Linked DNA regions of Homo sapiens: region 1 is linked to region 2. Evidence: promoter capture Hi-C in 16 types of primary human blood cells and fetal thymus (Javierre and others, 2016). All regions are on one chromosome and are shown on one strand. The core of a region is centred on a gene start or on the middle of the fragment in contact, and the rest is flanking DNA. Distances in the headings are between cores, read along the strand shown.

Region 1 (4,037 bases), core at 64-2,563, about 59 Mb after region 2:
CATGCGCACTTGGCGCTTCTCCTCAAGCGGAGCAGGAACGGAACTGGGCGGACCCGCCGGAAGACTCGGCGAGTGCGCGCGCGCAGGAGCCCATTTTCCCGCCCGCAACGTGGCCCCGCCCTTTTACCCAGGCCCTACGCGAGCTTCGCCGAGTACGCGTGCGCAGCAGCTTCCCCTCCCTCGCCCCGCCCCTCACGTGGCCCCACCCTCTCACCCTAGACAGATGGGAGCCTCCTGGGGTGTCCACGTGAGCGCGCGTGAGTCCGCCCCCCCAGTCACGTGACCGCTGACTCGGGGCGTTCTCCACTATCGCTTACCTACCTCCCTCTGCAGGAACCCGGCGATATGGCTGCCGCTGTGCCCCGCGCCGCATTTCTCTCCCCGCTGCTTCCCCTTCTCCTGGGCTTCCTGCTCCTCTCCGCTCCGCATGGCGGCAGCGGCCTGCACACCAAGGGCGCCCTTCCCCTGGATACGGTCACTTTCTACAAGGTAACCGGGGCGGGGGACGTCGCGCGCAGGTGCCGCCGGGGCGCCCGGAAGAGCGCGCGCCCGTGGGGAGACGCTGGATTCCGGGAGCTGACGGGAGGTGGTCTGTAGCAACGGTCCCAGAGCTTCCCGGCGTCCTACAGGCCTAGTGGACTCTGAGCGGAGAATGTTATGACCACCGGGCATGCACGCTTCAGGGCCCCGGCGCACCCTTGCTTTTGCAGCATTTATACTTGCATCCACCCTTGCAAAGATGCAGCCGAGGGAACTGGGTGCCCCTTCCCTTCACCTGTGGGGAGAGGGCGGTGCCTGGCGAGATCCAACCCTCGAGTCCCAAGTGGGAGAACCGGAGGGCGGTGCGAGGTCGACGCCACCGGGCTCCCGGCTGTGGAAGCTGGGAGGGGTTGGCGGGGGGAAATGCAGGCGCGTTAGCCTGCGTGTCCGCGCCCCTCTTCCCAGGGTTGGATTGCAGCCTGCTTTGCAGTGTGCAAACAATGATCAGATATCATACATCTTGAATAGTGCAAGCGTGAAGAATAAGCTTCAGTTCAGCCACCCTGTAAAGCAGGGGTCCCCAACCACCAGGCCCGTCGGTGGCCTGTTAGAAACCGGGCCGCACAGCAGGAGGTGAGCGGCAGGCGAGCTAGCACTACAGCCTGAGCTCCGCCTCCTGTTACATCAGCTGCGGCATTACATTCTCATAGGAGCACGACCTTTATTGTGAACTACGCATGTGAGGGATCCAGGTTGTGTGCTTCTTATCAGAATCTAATGCCTGATGATCTGAGGCGAAACAGGTTCATGTCGAAACCACCCAACCCCGTGGAAAAGTTGTCTTCCATGAAACCAGTTCTTGGTGCCAAAAAGGTTGGGGATAGCTGTTGTAGGAAACATCTTGGGGTTGGCAACAAAATCAGTAAAATTGGGTCAAGGCATGGAAGAATTTGCCACTACCTCCGCCTTTCCCCCCTTCCATTTTTGCAGAATTAGGGATCCTGGCCTGAGTAAATGGACGGTTGGAAATGGTGGCTGAATGCAACACCGCAGTCCCAGTCCCCTCCTCTTGCACCTGTCTTCACCCACGAGCAGCTTTTAACTTCCTCTAGGAGATGGGCAAGCTTAGTGTTGCGAGAGAGCCAGTCATTTCATTTTCAGGTTTTGTACTCATTGTGGGGAAGTGAAACCAAGAAGTAGTTGTCTCCAGTGGTTGAAGTCTCCTATTTTCAAGCGTTCCCTGTCGTGGATTTGGCACTTGCAGCTCATTCAAGGCAAAGTTTCAAGAATTTAAAAGTGTAGGCCGGGCTTAGTGGCTCACGCCTGTAATCCCAGCACTTTGGGAGGCTGAGGCGGGTAGATCACCTGAGGTCAGGAGTTTGAGACCAGCCTGACCAACAAGGTGAAACCCCGTCCCTACTAAAAATACAAAAATTAGCTGGGCGTGGTGGTGGACACCTGTAGTCCCAGCTCCTCGGGAGGCTTAGACAGGAGAATTGCTTGAACCCAGGAGGCGGAGGTTGCGGTGAGCCAAGATCACGCCACTGCACTCCAGCCTGGGCGACAGAGCAAATACTCCGTCTCAAAAAAAAAAAAAAAAGTGTGGGCTGGGTGCGGTGGCTCATGCTTGTAATCCCGGCACTTTGGGAGGCTGAGGCAGGTAGATCACCTGAGGTCAGGAGTTGGAGACCAGCCTGGCCAACATGGTGAAACCCTGTCTCTACTAAAAATACAAAAATTAGCTGGGCGTGGTGGCGGGTGCCTGTAATCCCAGCTACTCGGGAGGCTGAGGCAGGAGAATTGCTTGAACCTGGGAGGTGGAGGTTGCAGTAAGCCGTCATCATGCCATGACACTCCAGCCTGGGCAACAAGAGCAAAACTCTGTCTCAAAAAAAAAAAAAATGGTGTAGGTGTGGCTGATTGGTTGTCAGGCATGCTCAGACACACCCTACAGCACCCTATGCTTTGGGGGCCTTTACTGGCAAAATGACACCCCTACCCCACCCTGCTCCATGGGAATCAGATAATATCACAGAACAAGTGTGACCCAAAGGGAAACTTTGCGCCATAAAGCTAACAGTGTTTTCTACTATTACCACCCTAGTCTAGGTCAACATTACAATAGCCTCTTCTCTGGTCTCCCTGCTTCCACTCTTGAGTCTCCACACAGTAGCCTAAGTTCTATATGACCTGACTCCTGGCTTCCCTCTCATCTCCCAACCATTCTCCTACTGTCTTTTGAATATTCCTTGCTCTTTACTGCCTTAGGATATGTTGCACTAGTTGTTCCTTGTGACTGGAATATTCTCTGCCCAAACTTTGAAAGGCTAGTTAGTTACTTCTCATCATTCGGGCTTAGGTTAAGTGTTTCCTCCTTAGAGTTCTTCCTTGATTTATCTTCCCCCCAGTCTAAAGTGCCAGTCACATTAATCTGTTTTATTTCTCCATACAGCACTCATCACTGATTTTTTAAAAATCTATTTTGCCATCTTTCTCTCTCACTGGAATATTATGTGCTCATGAAGAAGCTCCTTGTCTATTTTGTTCCTGATCGTCTGCGCTGCATAACAGATTACCTGTCTCATAGAAGGTGCACAATAACTATTTTGTTGCGTGAATGAACAAACGTTTTCTCCAGTCTCTTTTCAAATCTTCTCTTCCATCACGACTGAACCAAAAGGAAATGTACTAGTGTTCTGTCTGGCAGCCTTGTTCCATGCTTTGCCTTTCAGTGATTTCCAGTATCTTTTTTGTTGTTGTTTCTTTCCCTTCACCATCACTAGAATGTTAGTTTCATGAGCTAAGAGATGCCATTTTGTTCCCTGCTGTGTTCACTTAGTATGGTGCCTGGCAGGCCTTTAGTAACTTTTTACTCAATGAACGAATGAATGAATAATGAACTTATCTATACTTTAAAGAAGTGAGTTGCCTGATTATAGGTAATGGTAGAGCTGATTCCCACTAGCCCATTGGACACCAAGGGCTGGTAGGAAGTAGATGAGGAAAATAGACTTCTAAAGCTATCATTAAGAGATAACAGACCACTTCGGGAGGCCGAGGCAGGTGGATCACAAGTTCAGGAGATCGAGGTCATCCTGGCTAACACGGTGAAACCCTGTCTCTACTAAAAATACAAAAAAATTAGCCGGACGTGGTGGCGGGCACCTGTAGTCCCAGCTACTTGGGAGGCTGAGGCAGGAGAATGGCGTGAACACGGGAGGCGGAGCTGCAGAGAGCTGAGATGGCACCACTGCACTCCAGCCCGGGCAACAGAGCGAGACCCTGCCTCAAAAAAAAAATAAAAAATAACAGACTAAGATAACAAGAGAAAATTCTTTATGCAAATGTTTGCCATTCAAAACCATTCTGCCTTACCCTTGAAACTAAGAATGGTGAAAGTAGAAGGTGGAGATCTCTGAATTCTATTTTAATGTTAGACCACTGTATAATTATTAATATTATTCCATAATACAAGTGCAGGCCCTTGAAAGTAGGTATCCCGTGTTTTGCTTTTTAAACATTCTCCCCTTCCCCAACATGTAGCATCTGCTACAAAG
Region 2 (4,413 bases), core at 1,649-4,148:
GTTCAGCGGATGTTAACAAATATAGTTCCTCAACGGGATGGGCATTTTTAAAAATCTGGAAGAATAAATACCAAAGTATAACAACAGTTTCTAGGTAGGTGGAATTGTGAGTGTTTTAATTTTCTCCTTTGGGTTTACGTATATTCCTAGTATTTCAGTAACAACTTTGAATTGCTTTTAAAGTAAGACATAAAATTTAAATTGTAAAAGAGAAAATAAGATTGATGGACTGCTCATGCATTCCTTCACTTAGCTTATTAGGACAGTTGTGCAATAGGGAGAGGGTAGGTGGTAGAGGAGAGAACACAGGCCTCAAAATCAGAGTGGCTTCCTGAGGTCTTGTCTCTGCTCCTGGCCAGTTGGGTGACCTGGCCTGAGACTTTTCAACAAACCTCAGTTTCTTCATTGCTAAACGGGGACAGTGGTACCTATGTCCCACAGTGGCAATGCAGTACATAATGTGGTGGGTAAGAACACAGGTTCTGGGTTACACAGACCTGGGTTCAAATCCTACCTCTTGCCACATACTAACTTTTTTACTTTAAACAAATTACTTAAGTTTCAGTTTTCTCCTCCATCAGAGATGATGATAACACTATCTCACTTGGTCTTGTTACGGGCATGATTAAGAAAATCAAAATAAAGTTCTTGGCCCAGGACCTGGCACACAGGAAGCTCTCTATAAGCATTAGCCATATGGAAAGTGCCTAACACACACTTGTAAGTTTTTTATGAATGTGATTCCCTTCCCTTCTTTCCCTTGTTCTCTCTCTCAAAGCAAGTGCCAGTAGGGAGGGTATGGGTGGAAAGGGAGGTGGAGAAACAAGAGGGAAAAAAAAGACCAAAGAATGAAGAAACCAAAGGGCAAGGGCTCTATCCTGAATGATCTTTAGCCTCCTCTGGAATCTGGTCACTGTCACAGTCTCCTCACCTTCTCCACGCACACATATGACCCCAGTCCTTCTGGGAGCCAATGAACCAGACAGACCAGTCTCTGTGGCCAGGCCCTCATGAAGCCCCTATGTCCCCTGCTGGCATCATCTCAACAGTATCCTCCTTCTTCCCAGCATCACCTCAGTCAACAGTGTGAGTGAATGCATGAGTGGCTGGCGTGAGGGGCAGACATTTCCACCTCACTGGAAGAAGCATGGCAGCTGGGGGTCCCAGGGCTTGACTGGTGTAGGGCTGAGGACCTGAATGTAGGGGTGATCTCCAGTCCACCCTAGCAAGGACTTCTTACAGGGTTGATTCCTTCTTTCTCTCCAGATCCAGGCAGGGGAGAGGGAGGACTGTGCATTACGAGAGTCCGGGCTGTGAGTGGTAGAACCAAGAGTCCTCTTCCTAGAAAAGCCTGATCCTACCACAGTGTCACCACGAGGGGAAAAGCAATTGGTTTTTAGAAGGGTTCTGCCCTCTTCAGCTATAAGGAAGCCTAGGAAATCCTGAGCCATGTCTAACTTCTTGCCTCCTCTGTCCATAACTGGGATGGATATTTAGCTGGTGTCTCCATGTTGAGAGCTGGGGTTTTCCTAACATTACCCCAGTTGACAATGGGAGTGAGTGGATGAATGATACGCTTGAGGGGACACACTTTTTTTCACCTGTAAGTGTGAGATAGGAGGGAGTGGGGCCCTAAAGCTCAGAGAAACTTCAGTGTCTGGACAGGAAGGCTCAGGGGGCACTTGAGTCCTATCCTTCCTAAATCCTTTCTGTTAGCCTTAGCTTGGTAGGACCCTCTGGCTGAAACTCAGAGCTCCTAGAGCAATGGAGTCCACCTTGAGAACTGCAAGGGAAATGTGTTTAGAGGGATGCACTGACTGTGGCTTGAGACGACTCTGGGTGGGGTGAGGAGACCTCATGTGCACTCCCTTCTGATTGGAGGCCACTCACCTACGCTCCTCTGAAAAAGGCAGCAGATGAGCATCTACAAGGTAGGACTCCTCCCTTAATTCTAAGGGACACCTCACTGTTTCCTCCCACTGTCTACAGAGCCTTGACTCTTCCCTCCTCTCAGTCAAGGCCTTGGTTACCAGCAAGTCTCAACTCTTGTTTATTTTTAAGCCAATGAGTTTGAGGAGTGTTTGTGGGAAAGGGAGGAGGTTTTTGGAGGGCCTGACTGGGGGAGATGGGTTAGGGGAGCCAGAGGAGATGGAGAGAAAGAGGAGGGAGAAACCCACACGTGAATGGGGGAGGGGAGGATGCAACAGCTGGATGGAGGTGAATGCCACAGCTGGAGGTGAATGCCACAGCTGGAGGGGATTAGGAGGATCACAGCTTGAAGGGGAGGGGGACCAACGCCTGGGCATGCAGGAACAGGTGCTCTCTGACTAATCTTCAGGTCCAGCCTGCTGTGTGTGTGTGTGTGTGTGTGTGTGTGTGTGTGTGTGTGTGTGTGTGTGTGTGTGTGTGTGTGTGTGTGTGTGTGTGTGTGTGTGTGTGTGTGTGGAGATGGTGGGTATATCAGTCCTTGCCCTTCCTTTCCTTCCCTAGAGGGGGCCAAAACTCTCCCTCCTCCTTCCCTCTCTCTCTTCCTGAGGATGAGTGGGAGGAGATGTTCTCTTGCCCTCTGTCCTTTAAGTCTGTCCCCCAATCATCCTCCACCCCACCCCAATACGGTCCTTTCCAGCTCTGGAGGCCCTTCGTCTCCAAGCTGGGCCGCGGCATCCCTCCGCTCCATTCCCTTCCTTCCCAGCCCCACAGGCGTCGGGTCCAGGTCCCCAGTTCCTCCATCCCCACAGCCTCAGCATCCCCACGCCATCACCCCGCACCAGGCCACATCTGCATCCCGACCCTCCCTCCACGCCCGGATCCCAGGACCCAGACCCATCCCTGCCCCCCACCCCCCCACAACTCGGCCAGGCTCTCACCTCGGGGGCTCCGCGGCCGCAGCACAAAAGGCGGCGCTGCTGCAGCTCCGCTCCGGATGCTGCTCCCGCCTCCTCCTCCTTCTCCTCCTCCTTCCCTCCTCCCCCCGCTGCCCTCCACCGGACCCGGGGCGCTGTCACAGGCGATGCTCGTGCGGTGTCCGGATGCACGGGTGTCAGCTTCAGCTTTCTGCCCCCACCCCCCGACCCCTAGCCCCGTCCCTGCTCGGCTTGAACTCCCGCTCCTTCCAGGGCCCCCGCCCCTGGCCCCCCGGGACGGACACGCCCTGAGCGGGGGATGCTGCGATGGAGCCGCCGGCCTCTTAAAGGAGCCCGCTGCTGCCATCCGGCGCGCTCCAGGCTCGTACCTGGCCCGCCTGGGCCCCGCGCCTCCCTGCTGGCGGTGTCCTATGGAGGTCCCACCTCAGGCCTCAGGCTGATTCCACAGGAACCCCCTATGACCCGTCTTATAGACTCCTTTCTACATCGGAGAGAGCAGCCCCTCAGTTGGGATCCCTAGCGCTCTGGCATTGCTCCCCCTATCATACCGATCTTGCCAGCTCTCCTTCCCTTGATTGTCACCACTCACTCCAATTTCACCCACTTGGAATTCACTCGGCTCTAGGCCCCATCCTCCTCCAGTGTTCCTGGATGACCCCTCATTATCATTTCAAGATTCCTCTGGACCTCCAACCCCGGCTCAGAGTAAGACATCTTTCTTGACCCCTTCTCAGAACACTCATTAGAACCTTTTTTTTTTTTAATGTGGTCTCTCCCTTTCTCTCTCCAAGGTCACAAGATTTCCCTCAGCCCAGTGGTTGTGCAACTTTGGGGGAGGAGGCAATGGGGCTCTAGGACTAAACAATGCGCGTCTGCTCAACACCCAGATCAGTTGATTAATCTTAGGCGGCCAAAATTCACTTTTGCTCTCTTCAGCTGAGAGACCCAAGACTCATGGAAGAGGGAACAAGACCACCAAGGTGCCTAGTCCTTCTAATCCTGTCGTCCCACATTACAGCCTGATTATCAGGCCCCAGAGGTTTCCTCGCCAGTTAAAGAGAGGTTCACTAGAGCGGTTCTAAAAAGGTTTCACAAAAGAAGCAACACCTGAAGGGAGGTGAAGGACGACCTAGGAAAAGGAAGCAAGTTCTGTGTCACGGAGGCCCAAGGGCAAGGGGCTTAGGCTGTGGGTTGAGGGGACTGTCTGAGACGGACTTAAACCTGCACCAGCTCCAGAGCCCTGCGGAAACAGAGATCGGTCCCCTCCGGCGTCTAGGTAAGGCCCACCCTCCCAGACCGCAAAGAGCCAGGATCCGACGGCAGCCTCTCCGGACCAATCACAACCTTCCTTCATCAAGGAGGCGGGGTCGGGGGGGGCTGACTTTTCCTTGTCTCCGCCCCTTTAGTCGAAGTAACCAATCTCAGTGCACCTAGGGGAAGTAATCGCAATGGGAGTAACCAATGACGCCATGAAGCTTCTCGTGCGTGCTTGACCCTGCCTCTCCAGCTGCGACACAGATGGCGCGCGGGCTCTTGGGTTCTGTAGTTT

The links. The method cuts DNA at HindIII sites, captures the fragments that hold promoters and counts their contacts. A CHiCAGO score of 5 or more calls a contact.
Region 1: a fragment that was not itself captured here is called in contact with the fragment with the promoter of MAP3K12 in region 2 in 1 of 17 cell types (total B cells); the score reaches 5.3 in total B cells.

The regions. Positions count from the first base shown.
Region 1 is chr12:112,013,121-112,017,157 of GRCh38, forward strand. ERP29 (endoplasmic reticulum protein 29) reads left to right here and starts at 306. Exons shown (of 3, transcript NM_006817.4): 1 at 306-489. The coding sequence starts at 346. It overlaps TMEM116 (transmembrane protein 116), which reads right to left and starts at 45. Exons shown (of 11, transcript NM_001193531.2): 1 at 1-45. RefSeq lists silencers at 130-209, 550-639 and an enhancer at 1,640-1,779. The HindIII fragment of the contact is 577 bases long and covers 1,026-1,602 here.
Region 2 is chr12:53,496,560-53,500,972 of GRCh38, forward strand. MAP3K12 (mitogen-activated protein kinase kinase kinase 12) reads right to left here and starts at 2,899. Exons shown (of 14, transcript NM_001193511.2): 1 at 2,868-2,899. It also overlaps a transcript of TARBP2 not described here. RefSeq lists silencers at 1-40, 3,016-3,265 and an enhancer at 4,359-4,413. The HindIII fragment of the contact is 6,087 bases long and covers 1-4,337 here.